2 separate regions of the Homo sapiens genome follow, and region 2 is linked to region 1. Evidence: promoter capture Hi-C in 16 types of primary human blood cells and fetal thymus (Javierre and others, 2016). All regions are on one chromosome and are shown on one strand. Each heading gives the region's core, a stretch centred on a gene start or on the middle of the fragment in contact. The rest is flanking DNA. Distances are from core to core; before and after follow the strand shown. Region 1 holds the start of CA5A (carbonic anhydrase 5A). Region 2 overlaps ZFPM1 (zinc finger protein, FOG family member 1).

The links. Contacts are between HindIII fragments. The CHiCAGO score rates a contact against its expected background, and 5 or more counts as called.
Region 2: a fragment that was not itself captured here is called in contact with the fragment with the promoter of CA5A in region 1 in 10 of 17 cell types (endothelial precursors, total B cells, fetal thymus and 7 more); the score reaches 11.1 in endothelial precursors.

What each region holds. Positions count from the first base shown.
Region 1 is chr16:87,933,007-87,938,941 of GRCh38, forward strand. CA5A (carbonic anhydrase 5A) reads right to left here and starts at 3,523. Exons shown (of 7, transcript NM_001739.2): 1 at 3,303-3,523. The coding sequence starts at 3,444. The HindIII fragment of the contact is 28,449 bases long and covers 1-5,935 here.
Region 2 is chr16:88,522,562-88,528,496 of GRCh38, forward strand. It overlaps ZFPM1 (zinc finger protein, FOG family member 1), which reads left to right. Exons shown (of 10, transcript NM_153813.3): 5 at 4,253-4,355; 6 at 5,471-5,677. All of the region lies in intron 2 of ZFPM1-AS1 (ZFPM1 antisense RNA 1), which reads right to left. Among named protein-coding and RNA genes, the nearest start is that of ZFPM1-AS1, 5.5 kb to the right of the region's middle. RefSeq lists enhancers at 2,899-3,486, 3,487-4,073, 4,301-5,041, 5,042-5,781 and a silencer at 4,946-5,075. The HindIII fragment of the contact is 918 bases long and covers 2,107-3,024 here.

The DNA of each region.
Region 1 (5,935 bases), core at 2,273-4,772:
CCTCAGGTGGCTGCGAAGGGAGGATGAGAGATGCAGTGAGCAGGCCTGCACCCACCCAGAGTGGGGAGCCCAGCCCAACCACGGTCAGCCCGGGGGGAGCCAAATGCAAGAAGACTCACACACACCTGAGCAGGAAATAGCCAGTAAAATGTCCAAAAATGTGCAGCAGTGTGCTGGTTGAGGTTTAATAAGCCGTTCTCCCAGGAATTTAGAATCTTTGATTTCTAGGGTTTGCCAATGACTGTGGTGTAAATACTTTCACCATGGCCAATTTTAAGTTACCAACGTAACGTTGCTGATCACACACTTAGGAACAGATGGGCACTGCCAGTGCACACCCTGAAACATGACTAGAAAACATTAAATGATCCCTAAAATTATTTTTTCTTAGACAGGGTCCTGCTGTGTAGCCCAGGCTGGAGTGCAGTGGCCTGATCAGGGCTCACTGCAGCCTGAAATTCCTGGGGTCAGTGATCCTCCTGCCTCAGCCTCCCAAGTAGCTGGGATGATAGGTGTGTGCCACCATGTCCAGTTAATTTTTTAATTTTTTTTTTTTTTTAGAGATGGGTTCTTGCTATGTTGCCCAGGCTGATCTTGAACTCCTGTGCTTGAGCTGTCCTCCCACATCAGCCTCCCAAAACAGTGCTGGGATTACAGGTGTGAGCCCCCATGCCTGGTTCTAAAATTATCACTGAGCGTTTTGTAACTCTTTGACTTTTCTCTCAAGGCCAAACCACCAGTGATTTTTCAATAATTTTTAGTAACAATATTCTTTTTCCAAGTGAAATAATCTTCAGAATGCCCATAAATAAAACACCGACATAGAAGGATGAATTCCTTATGATGTTCCAATCTTCTCTGCTTGGCAGAATATTCTGCTCTTTGTGGAACTCTGAAATGATTTGGCAGAGCCCTCTGTTCACTGGGAACAGGTTGAGGACCATGGTGTAAATGGATTTAGGTGCCGATACAGAATATGACTCTCTCTAGCACACGATGTAAGAGGACATGTTGCCACAGTAAGAAATGGAATGCTACCTGCTGCCCACTGACAGGGAAATGCTTAAATAGACACAGGGCACCCACCGCTGCCTGTGTTAGCAACAGCAGCAGCTGGCGTCTAGCAAGGGCTTCCTGGAGCCATGTGCTGTCCCCAGCCTTTGCAGGCCCCACCTCGGACCCTTCTCCCAACGACACTGTGCCGTAAGCACCATTATCAACCCCCTGTTACAGACGACAAAACCAAGGCTGGGGGAAGTTAAGAAAGTCACAGAGGGGACAGCTGGGCGTGGTGGCTCACGCCTGCAATCCCAGCACTTTGGGAGGCTGAGGCGGGCAGATCACCTGAGGCTGGGAGTTCAAGACCACCCTGAGCAACATGGAGAATCCCTGTATCTACTAAAAATACAAAATTAGCCGGATGTGGTGGCGCATGCCTGTAATTCCAGCTACTCGGGAGGCTGAGGCAGGAGAATTGCTTGAACCTGGGAGGTGGGGGTTGCGGTGAGCTGGAGATCGCACCACTGCGCTCCAGCCTGGGCAACAAGACAGAAATTAGTCTCAAAAAATAAAGGAAAGTCACAGAGGGGCAACAGCCATAGAGCAGTGGGGCCAAGATTCCAATCTAGGCAGGCTAGCGCTCTTGACGGTCGTACTAAGAATAAAAAAGGGGGGTGGGTGCAGTGGCTCACGCCTGTAATCCCAGCACTTTAGGAGGCCGAGGCAGGTAGACCACCTGAGGTCGGGAGTTTGAGACCAGCCTGGCCAACATGGCGAAATCCTATCTCTACTAAAAATACAGAAATTAGTTGGGCGTGGTGGCACACGCCTGTAGTCCCAGCTACTTGGGAGGCTGAGTCAAGAGGATCGCTTGAACCCAGGAGGCAGAGGCTGCAGTGAGCCGAGATCGCACCACTGCACTCCAGTCCACAGGTGTGGACCCCAACAGGAGGAATGAGTGTAGCTCACTCAGAGTCTGGGGTGGGCCAGGCTTTCTACACGCATCGTGTCATCCTTCCATGGCCCTGGAGAGAAAGTCTGGCCACCCCCATCTCGAGATAAGGACACAGAGGCTTGGGGGTGAAGACCTGCCGAGGCTCCACCTCAGCAAGCGTCAGTCGGACTGCATGCCTGGGGTCTGGCTCCTAAGCCCATGCTCTTTCAATGGCCCAAACATGGAATGCATGGAAGATTTCAGTTAGAAGAGAACTTGGCAGCTGCCAAAGCAGGCTCTCATTCTACGGAGGAAGCACCTGAGACCCAGAAAGAGGAAGGGCCTCGTTCAAGGTCACAAGGCACTGACCATGAAGCCAGGAGGGGCTGGCACGGGGCAGTTTCTTGGCAGAGCTGGCTGAGTGGTTTATTTGTTACAGGTTTGCTTGAAAGCGTTCTCTGCCGAAGAGTTTAGGAGCGATCGTGACTGGTTAGTGCAGCCCATTCCGCCGGGTCTGGATGGTGAGTCGTGCCAGTGTGTCCCGTGCGAACACGGACTACCCGCCTGCTCCCAGCATCTTGCCCTCCCCAGGACCCCTGAAACGGAGGCTAAATGATTCACCCAAGGTCACCAAATACAAGAGAAACGGAGTGTGGCCAGGCGCGGTGGCTCACGCCTGTAATCCTAGCACTTTGGGAGGCCAAGGTGGGTGGATCACCTGAGGTCAGGAGTTCGAGACCAGCCTGGCCAACATGGTGAAACCCCATCTCTACCAAAATACAAAAAATTAGCTGGGTGCAGTGGCGGGTGCCTGTAGTCCCAGTTACTTTGGAGGCTGAGGCAGGAGAATCACTTGAACCTGGAGGGCAGAGGTTGCAGTGAGCCGAGATCATGCCATTGCACTCTAGCCTGGGCAAAAGAGCAAAACTTCATCAAAAAAAGAAAAAAGAGGGCCGGGCGCCGTGGCTGATGCCTGCAATCCCAGCACTTTGGGAGGCTGAGACAGGCGGATCGCGAGGTTAGGAGTTCGAGACCAACCTGGCTAACACAGTGAAACCCTGTCTCTACTAAAAATACGAAAAATTAGCCAGGAGTGGTGGCATGCACCTATAGTCCCAGCTACTCAGGAAGCTGAGGCAGGAGAATCGCTTGAACCCGGGAAGTGGAGGTTGTGGTGAGCTGAGATCACGCCACTGTACTCCAGCCTGGGCCACAGAGCGAGACGCCATCTTAAAAAAAAAAAAAAAAAAACGGAGTGGAAATCTGAACCCATCTGGCTCGGGACGGTCTCTCCTCTCTCCTCTCGAAAGACCCCATCAGCTAAGACAAGGATCCAGTCGCATCTTAGGAAATTTGAGGCTCTACTTACAAGTGTTATTGCTGGTTTGCCATGCACAGGAACGCTGAGAACACCATCGCCCTGGCCTCATCGAACGACTCCAGAGAGGGGCCCACATCTGCTCAACCAAGAAGGAGAAAGCTGAGGTCTTCCAAGTGTTCCTCCCCAACATCTTGGGTCTGTTCCCACTGACTCCAGTCTGAAGAGGGTGATGTTCCCTGCTGTCTGTTCTCACTTTGATCAGGACCACTGTGGACTGGCGTGTACCCACCTCTTTTTGTAGAAACTCATCCCAACCCCTGAGCCTAATGGTTAAAGTTCAACCCATGCCTTTCCCAACAGGGTGGGTCCACAGGGATTAGTGGCCTCTGCTGGGGACAGGCCACTCAGGTCACTGGGCTTTGATCTGGCAAACAGGAGCACAAGTCTGCCAGGGAGCTAGAAAAACTGTACGGTGGGGCTGCGTGAGCACCAGGGGATTACGCGGGAGGCGGGGGCGAGTGGATGAGAGCAGAGTCCCTGTTTCTTTCATGGGGTTGACCGTGTGGTTTGGGGCTCCGGGACACTCAATACCAGGCACAAAGCCATGGTGTGCATGTGAGGAGGGACTGGCAGGCAGGCTCAGAAGTACAGGAATGGGACTGGCCAAAGCGCTGCTGGGTAGACAGGCCAGGGGAGCAGGGAGCTTCTGTCCACCCACCAGGGCTCCTGAAGTCATGGAGTCCTTGCTTGCCTTAAAATAGGTGCGATTTGATTCATTCATCCTCCCCGGAAGCAAGATGCCCTGTGGCTTCGGACACTTCCAGGTCATGCCTGCTGTCTTGGCATAAACATTAACAGGGCCACCTTTCTTTCTTTCCTTTTCTTTTTTTTTTTAGACAGAGTTTCACTTCTGTTGCCCAGGCTAGAGTGCAATGGCGTGATCTCGGCTCACTGCTACCTCTGCCTCCCAGGTTCAAGCAATTCTCCTGCCTCAGCCTCCTGAGTAGCTGGGATTACAGGCGCCCACCACCATGCCCAGCTAATTTTTTGTATTTTTAGTAGAGATGGGGTTTCACCACGTTGGCCAGGCTGGTGTTGAACTCCTGACCTCAGGTGATCTGCCTGCCTCGGCCTCCCAAAGTGCTGGGATTACAAGTGTGAGCCACTACGCCCAGCCTCTTTTCTTCGTTTCTTTTCTTTTCTTTCTTTCTTTTTTTGAGATGGAGTCTCGCTCTGTTGCCCAGGCTGGAGTGCAATGGCGTGATCCTGCCTCACTGCAACCTTTGCCTCCCAGGTTTAAGCAATTCTCCTGTCTCAGCCTCCTGAGTAGCTGGGATTATAGGCACACACCACCACAACGGCCAATTTTTTGTATTTTTAGTAGAGACGGGGTTTCACTGTGTTCCCCAAGCTGGTCTCGAACTCCTGAGCTCAGGCAATCCACCCACCTCGGCCTCCTAAAGTGCTAGGATTACAGGCATGAGCCACTGCGTCCAGCCTCTTTTCTTTTCTTTCTTTCTTTCTTTCTTTCTTTCTTTCTTTTTTTTTTTTTTTTTGAGGTGAGGTCTTGCTCTGTCACCCAAGGTGGAGTGCGGTGGTGCCATCATGGCTCACTGCAGTCTCAATCACCCAGGCTCAAGTGATCCTCCCTCCTCAGCCTCCCAAGTAGCTGGGACTATAGGTGCATGCCATTATGTCCAGCTAATTTTAAAAATTATTTGTAGAGGCAGGTTCTCGCCATGTTGCCCAGGCTGGTCTTGAACTCCTGGGCTCAAGCAATCCTCCCAGAGTGGCCTCCCAAAGTGCTCGGATTACAGGCATGAGCCACTGCCCCTGGCCTGGTACCTCCCTTCATGCCCAGGGTCCACATGGGTATGTTAGCTGGTCACTCTAGCCAGGCAGCTGGTGATATTTGCAGACGCCAACCCACAAAGAACCTTCCTTTGGGTCCTTTGAGCGGCACAGCAGTTTATTCACCCAGACACCTTTTACCTGTGAAATGGAACCCATGGGATTGGGATGCACCAGTTTGTGACTTCTTGTTGTTGTTTAAACTTACAATCTTTTAGGGGGCAGGGCTATCATAACTTTTCATAGAATCCTGGAATCTTAGATCTAGAAAACCCTACAGAACACAGGTGTTGAAATGCGAGTCCACTTGTAGGCTCCTGAAAGCCCAAGAATCCCACTGAAATCCCCCACACAATGGATAGGGTCTGCGGCTTTCGGCCACTGCTCTGGTGGGCCCAAGAGTTTGCTTGCATTTGTTTTGAGCAACAAAAACCAAGTCTGGATGATATGTTCTCTCCTTCCCACACAGTCATGGTGGAAATGCACCCACTCTTGGGAAGTCTGATTCATTGTCATTCATTCATTGACCCACTCACTCATTCATTGACTCACTCACTCACTCATTGACTCACTCACTCATTCACTCACTCACTCATTCATTCACTCACTCATTCATTCTCTCACTCAGTCAATCATTCATTCACTCATTCATTCATTCATTCACTCACTCATTCACTCACTTATTCATTCACTCACTCATTCACTCATTCACTCATTCATTCACTCATTCACTCATTCATTCATTCACTCATTAATTCATTGGCTTTTGCCTCCATTTCCTCATCTGTAAAGTAGGGAAGATTCTAGGATTCCATCATACACGATAACAC
Region 2 (5,935 bases), core at 1,316-3,815, 590 kb after region 1:
TAAAGTTGTCACAGCGGATGCTGCACAGATAGGGTTTCCGATGGCTATCGGTGCCACCGCAGAATCAAGACACTGACCTCTTTGTTGGGGGAAACAAGGAACATTCTCAGGTCCGCCCGGGGAATTTAAAGTGGCCACTGCTGGTGGGGCCGGCCAGGGCCCAGAGGAGGGACAGGGCAACCCCAAGGGGCGGCAAACAGGGTGGGCTCTAGCGTCCTCCGTGGACCCTGGACACACCTGCCTGACCAGGCTGGGTGCCGAGCCTGTGGCACCCTGGGAGGGAAGATGGCCGCAGCACCCACATCTCTGAGAGTCTTGGCAGAAGGGCCTGGTTTGGAAGTTAAAAATAGGCCCCCTCCCAAGGCCAGGCGCGGTGGTTCACGCCTGTAATCCCAGCACTTTGGGAGGCCAAGGCGGGCAGATCACCTGAGGTCAGCAGTTCAAGACCAGTCTGCCCAACATAGTGAAACCCCGTCCCTACTTAAACTACAAAAATTAGCTGGGTGTGGTGGTGCTTGCCTGTAATCCCAGCTACTCGGGAGGCTGAGGCAGGAGAATTGCTTGAACCCCGGAGGTGGAGGTTGCAGTGAGCCGAGATCATGCCATCGCACTCCAGGCTGGGGGACAAGAGTGAGACTTCATCTCAAAAAAAAAAAAAAAATAGGCCCCCTTCCCCCTTGCTCCCCAGTGCCCACAGGCAGAGCAGGGTCAGGAAGGGCCTGCAGCACCAGAGAAAGGGCTTCTGTTCCAGGCTGATCAGAGGTGGGGAAACAAGAAGAGACAGAAAAAAATCAACAGGCAGACCCGTGCCCGGCCAGCCCCTCCGCAAGGGAAGCAGAAGCTGAAATTGGCTTCCTGCCCCAGCGTCTCCTGGCCGCGGCCCCAGCAGTGGCTCCCAGGATGGGCGGGTGGCCCCGGGCTGGCTTCAGGGGTCCGGCCACTTGGCACCGGGCAAGACCCTGGTTCAGGGCTGGCCGTGTCCATGCCACCTCCAGGCTGGGGACCCTGGTGGCCCCAGGCGAGGCTGTGCTCACCTGTCCCCTGAGAGGTGTCAGGGTGGCCCCTGCATCCTCAGCAGCCAGGGCAGACTGGCAGGGAGGCCCTCACCCCTTCCCAGCCTGTGGTCGCAGAAGTAGGAGCGGCAGGCCCCTCTGAGAGTGTTTGGCAGTGGGGGCCGTGGCAGGGTGGCCGGAGCTGCTTATCTTGCACCCCTAGGTCTCCTACCTGTTCCCTCCCGGGTCGGGGGCGGGTGCCGGATGGGAGCCTCACCCTCCTTCCCCCTGCCCCTCCCCACCCGCACAGCCAGGCCAGGCGCCCCGTCGCGCCCCACATACGCGGGGTGCACTCGGCGGGGCCGGGCGGGAACATGGCGCCTGCCCTCCACTCGGGACCGCCACAGAAAAATCGGGGGTGCGTGCAGCGTCAGCACAGTTGCGGCGCGTGTTTTTATCATGCTGGGAACACGCTGCTCCTGGGAGTGATAAGCATTAAACCGGCCGGCAGGCTGTCAGTCTCAGTTTGAGGGTTTAGAAATATTGGGACGAATAATTAGATTTCATATCGTTACCGCAGCACCCATCGGAGGATCAAGCAGATTAATTTTTTTCACCCTCCTCTGCTCATTAATATTCATTAGAGGCTCAGGAAGGCCAGGGTGGGGAGGGCCAGGCCCCAGCAGCCTCGCCGAGCGCTGCCCGCCTGGCTCGGGAGCAGCCGGGACACAGTAGCCGCCGGTCACCCACCTTTGTGCCAGGAATGTGCCTGCCCATTGCCCCTGGGGTTTACCCCCCAGCCTGCCCCAGCAGAAGCCCCCATCGGAGCCGGCAGAGCCCCACAGCTGGCGTGCAGTTCCTGAGCCCTGCTCTGCGGCCCTGGGAATCACGGGGGTGTCCTTTAAAAGGGGGGCACCCACCCGATGCCAGCCTGCACAAAGCACCTTTCTCGGGGCAGCCACTCACCACAGTGGACACTCAGCATGTGCTGCCCCGGACATGCCCTGTGGACGGCACCCCATGCCCACTTTGTCCTGCCAGGTCAACCCAAAAGCAACAGCCAGGGCTGGAGCTAATATGCATCCTGTGCTGGGAACCTGCCAGGCAGGCAAAAAGCTTCACACAGATCATGGCCTCCCAACATACCGGGAGGAAACTGAGTCAAAGGAGATAGGACTGACCCCCCTGAGACTGCCCCAAAGGCTAATGGTGGGCTTCGGGTGGGTCCAGAGTGAGCAGGGGCTCGGCCGCCCCTCTGTCCCCCCAACAGCCATGTGGGGAGAGGGCAGAGCCCCGTCTGCAGAGGAGAACCTGAGCCAGGGGTTGGGGTGGCTGCTGGGGACGGCTTCACACTGGGACTGCAGGGTTGCACCCACCCCAGCCAGGGCACCCACCCCACTGGCCAGCTTAGCTCTGCTCACCCGTTCTGTGGCTGAGCCGTGTGGTAGCAGGCAGGTGACGTGGAAGCCACCTGCTCTGCTGGCCAGCCCGCCTGAACCTTGCCTGAGTAGTCACTGAACGTCCCAGCCCAAAGGCTGTATCTTGCTAGATTCCTGAGTGCCCTGCGGATGGGCCAAGAGGCAGGGGTGGCCCAGAGGGGTCCCTGCATACGGGTCTGGTCGTGCCCTGCCCAAGGTCGCAGCAGGGAGGCCGAGCCTGGCTGGGACCCCACTGCCCACCTCTGCGGCCCACAGGGTCCCACGCGTGCTGGCAAAGTCCAGGAAAGCTCATGGGCTGGCACCTAGTGGGGAGGTACCCCAGACCCACAGGGGACATCCCTGCACTGTCACCAGCCCGACCCCTTGTACCATGGCAGGGTTGGGCTGACTGCCATCCTCACCACAGGGCTGCACAAACCTGTCCCGGGCCAGCGGCAGCATTTGTAGGTGACACTGGCTTTTCAGGCAAAGGTCATGGTGCAGGAAGTTTCTGATTAAAAGGCATTCATTTGTATAGAACAAAAAGTGTGTTTACAGGAAGTGCTGGAGCACGCGTGTATGCTGTGCCTCCAGATTGGACACCCAGGTGGCTAAGCTTGGGGACCACCAGTGCAGTGAGCAGCACAGGGCTGAGGGTCAGGGCACTGAGGCTGAGTCAGCCTTGCAGGAGGGACCGAGGCCTGAGGGGCAGCGGCGGTCACCCCTTCCTCCGTCACCATTTTCTCCCCTTGATGTCTGACCAGTGTTGGGCACCACAGAGCGAGGCCATGGACTGCCCGCCCCACCTCGCCCTGTCCCAGCCCCCGACTGCACTGGGATGGGGCCCCTCGCATTTCCTCTGCCATTCAGCTGGGGGCCGGGGTGCAATGGATGCAGGAAACGAGGCGGCCTCCACGGGCTCGGCCCAGAGTGTTTTCCTTCCAGACTTAGCCTGAGCCACCGCCGACAGCATGGCATGGCCCGAGGCACTGGCATGAGCTCTGTCCCTCCCCTTCCCAGGCCTCAGTTTCCTCACCCATGAGATGGAGAGGAGGGTACTGCCTGCTTTCCAGGGTGACAGTGAGGCCAGGGGGGCCAGGGCCGATCCAACACAGTGCTGGTGTCTCAGGCCCACAGGAAGGGGCCTGACCAGCCTCAGGGTGGGGACAGACCTGCTGAGTCCACCAGGTGCTCCCCAGCGTCCGCCGTGTGCCGGCCCCGGGAGCGAGCGGGAACGCAGGTGGCCCTGCCACGCCCTGTGGCAGGGAGGGGAGCCATGCTGTCAGGAGGACACTGAGGCCCGAGGGTTGCTAGGGAAGTGCCGTATCTTCTGGGCTAATCTCGGCCCCAGCCCACAGAGGTCATTCTGGAGGCATCTAGGGCCTGTGTGGAAGGAGCCTCTACCAGGTCCAGCCCCTGTGGGAACAGCGGTTTCACACCCAGCACTCTGGGGGCAAGGGTGGGCGAGCAGTGGGGAGAACACAGATACGCAGACCCGGGTGTGAGTTCAGGCTCTGCTGCTCCCTGGCTGTGTGACCTGGAGCATGTTGCTCGACCTCTTTGGGCCTCAGTCTCCACAAGAACCCTGCGCCCAACCCTGGAAGGTACTACTCCCTGCCAAGCCTCCCAGCCCCAGCACGGTGTTAGCCCCACCGGTCAACTATGGCACAGATGGCCCATGCCACACCTCTGCCAGCTCTTGGGCCAATGACTGTCCACAGCTTGGCCTACCAGCCAAGCCGGGAGGCAGATCCGTGTCACAGATGCCCCACATACTCACGGGAACCCCCAGGCAGGCTGCTGACGGACCCCTCCCCACGTGTTCCTACCCTCCCCCCCCAGAGCCCAGCCCTGACCCTGCTGCTGGTGGACGAGGCCTGCTGGCTGAGGACGCTGCCCCAGGCCCTGACTGAGGCCGAGGCCAACACAGAGATCCACAGGAAGGGTCAGTATGACGCGGCACCTCCGTCCCAAGCCTTCCGGAAGGTGGGGGTCACTTGGCTCCCCCTGGGCTGAGCCCTTAAAGGGAAACCAGCCTGCTAGGGCAGGGGATGGGGCACAGGGAGCTGCTGGCCCCGGGCGCTGCAGCATGAGGCAGACACTCTACTGGGACCAGTCAGCCCAGACCATGAGTCCCTGTATGAGGGTCCCGACTGGCAGGCTGAGCCAGGACAGGTGTCCGTGGCGGGGGGGTGGGGGAGGATTCTGCCCCTCTGGGGGACACCGTGATCCCCGTATCTCCTCCCTGCCTTGGCTGCACCTCTGGGAACCCACCAAGGGCAGCAGCAGGGACCCCGACACCAGACTGGCTGGCAGGTGCCACTGGACCATCCTCCATGTCGTCAGGCTGGCTCCAGGAACGGTCAAGGTGGCCGTCCAGGAAGTCGAGGGGCCTTGCCGTGCTGCTGCTACTGAGGGTGGCACGTCTGGGTGGCCTGCACCTCCGAGCACCCGGGGATGAAGCGGGAGGCCCTCTGGGCTTAGGCAGGTCCACTGGCCAGTGGAGTCCCTGGCCCCAGTGCAGGGTGGGGACAGGCTGTGGTGCGCGTGAGCGGGCCGGCTCAGGCCTGAGGGCGGCACCGCAGGGGACACACAGCCCGGGCGCCCCAGGTGAACAAGCCGGCCCCGCGCAGCCTGGGCTTTGTGGGCTGAGGCTGCCCCCTGCGGGTGGCTGCAGGAAGAGCCGCCCTTGGACGGTTTCCTGGAGAGCCGGGTCCACTCTAGGGCCCCACCTCTGGCTGCCGTCCCTGAGTGGCCACCCAGGGTCTCCCCTAGTTACTCCACCACCCGCCCTCCACGTCATCCCTTTCCTGGGAGACTTCCTCGGGGCCCTCCCACTAGGATGGGCCCAGAGCAAGGAGGCCTGGAGGCAGGCAGGCTGTGAGCACTCACAGGGGACCACCCAGCCTTGCCCCCCAGGCAGGATGGCCCTGGCAGCCAGCCAGCCATGGCTGTGAACCCGGGTGGCCGCTCTCCTGACCCCATCCTCTGCCCCTTGTTTAAGACGGGACAGGGAAGTGGGGCACAAAGTCCTAGGTTTGGACACCTGTCTCCCTCCAGATGACGCACTCTGGTGCAGGGTCACCAAGCCGGTGCCTGCGGGGGGACTCCTGAGCGTGCTCCTCACGGCCGAGCCCCACAGCACCCCCGGCCACCCTGTGAAGAAGGAGCCAGCAGAGCCCACGTGCCCGGCCCCTGCACACGACCTCCAGCTCCTGCCCCAGCAGGCCGGGATGGCCTCCATCCTTGCCACCGCAGTGATCAACAGTAAGTGCTGGGCTCTCCGCACCCAGGGCGGCTGCTCCACCAAGGAGGAGCAGGCAGGGCAGGAGAGGGTGGGAGCTGAGGGTGGGAAGCTCGGGGGCTGCAGGCTGCCGACAGAGTGAGAGGTAAGGCAGGGAAGGAGGTGACGTGGGTGGTCCCAAGTGCAGAACACATAGGGACAGGAGGGTCCCCAGAGCCCAGGGCCACCACAGGGAAAGCCCCTGCCAGCAGGCAAGCGGGCTTAGGCACAGACTCGGCTCT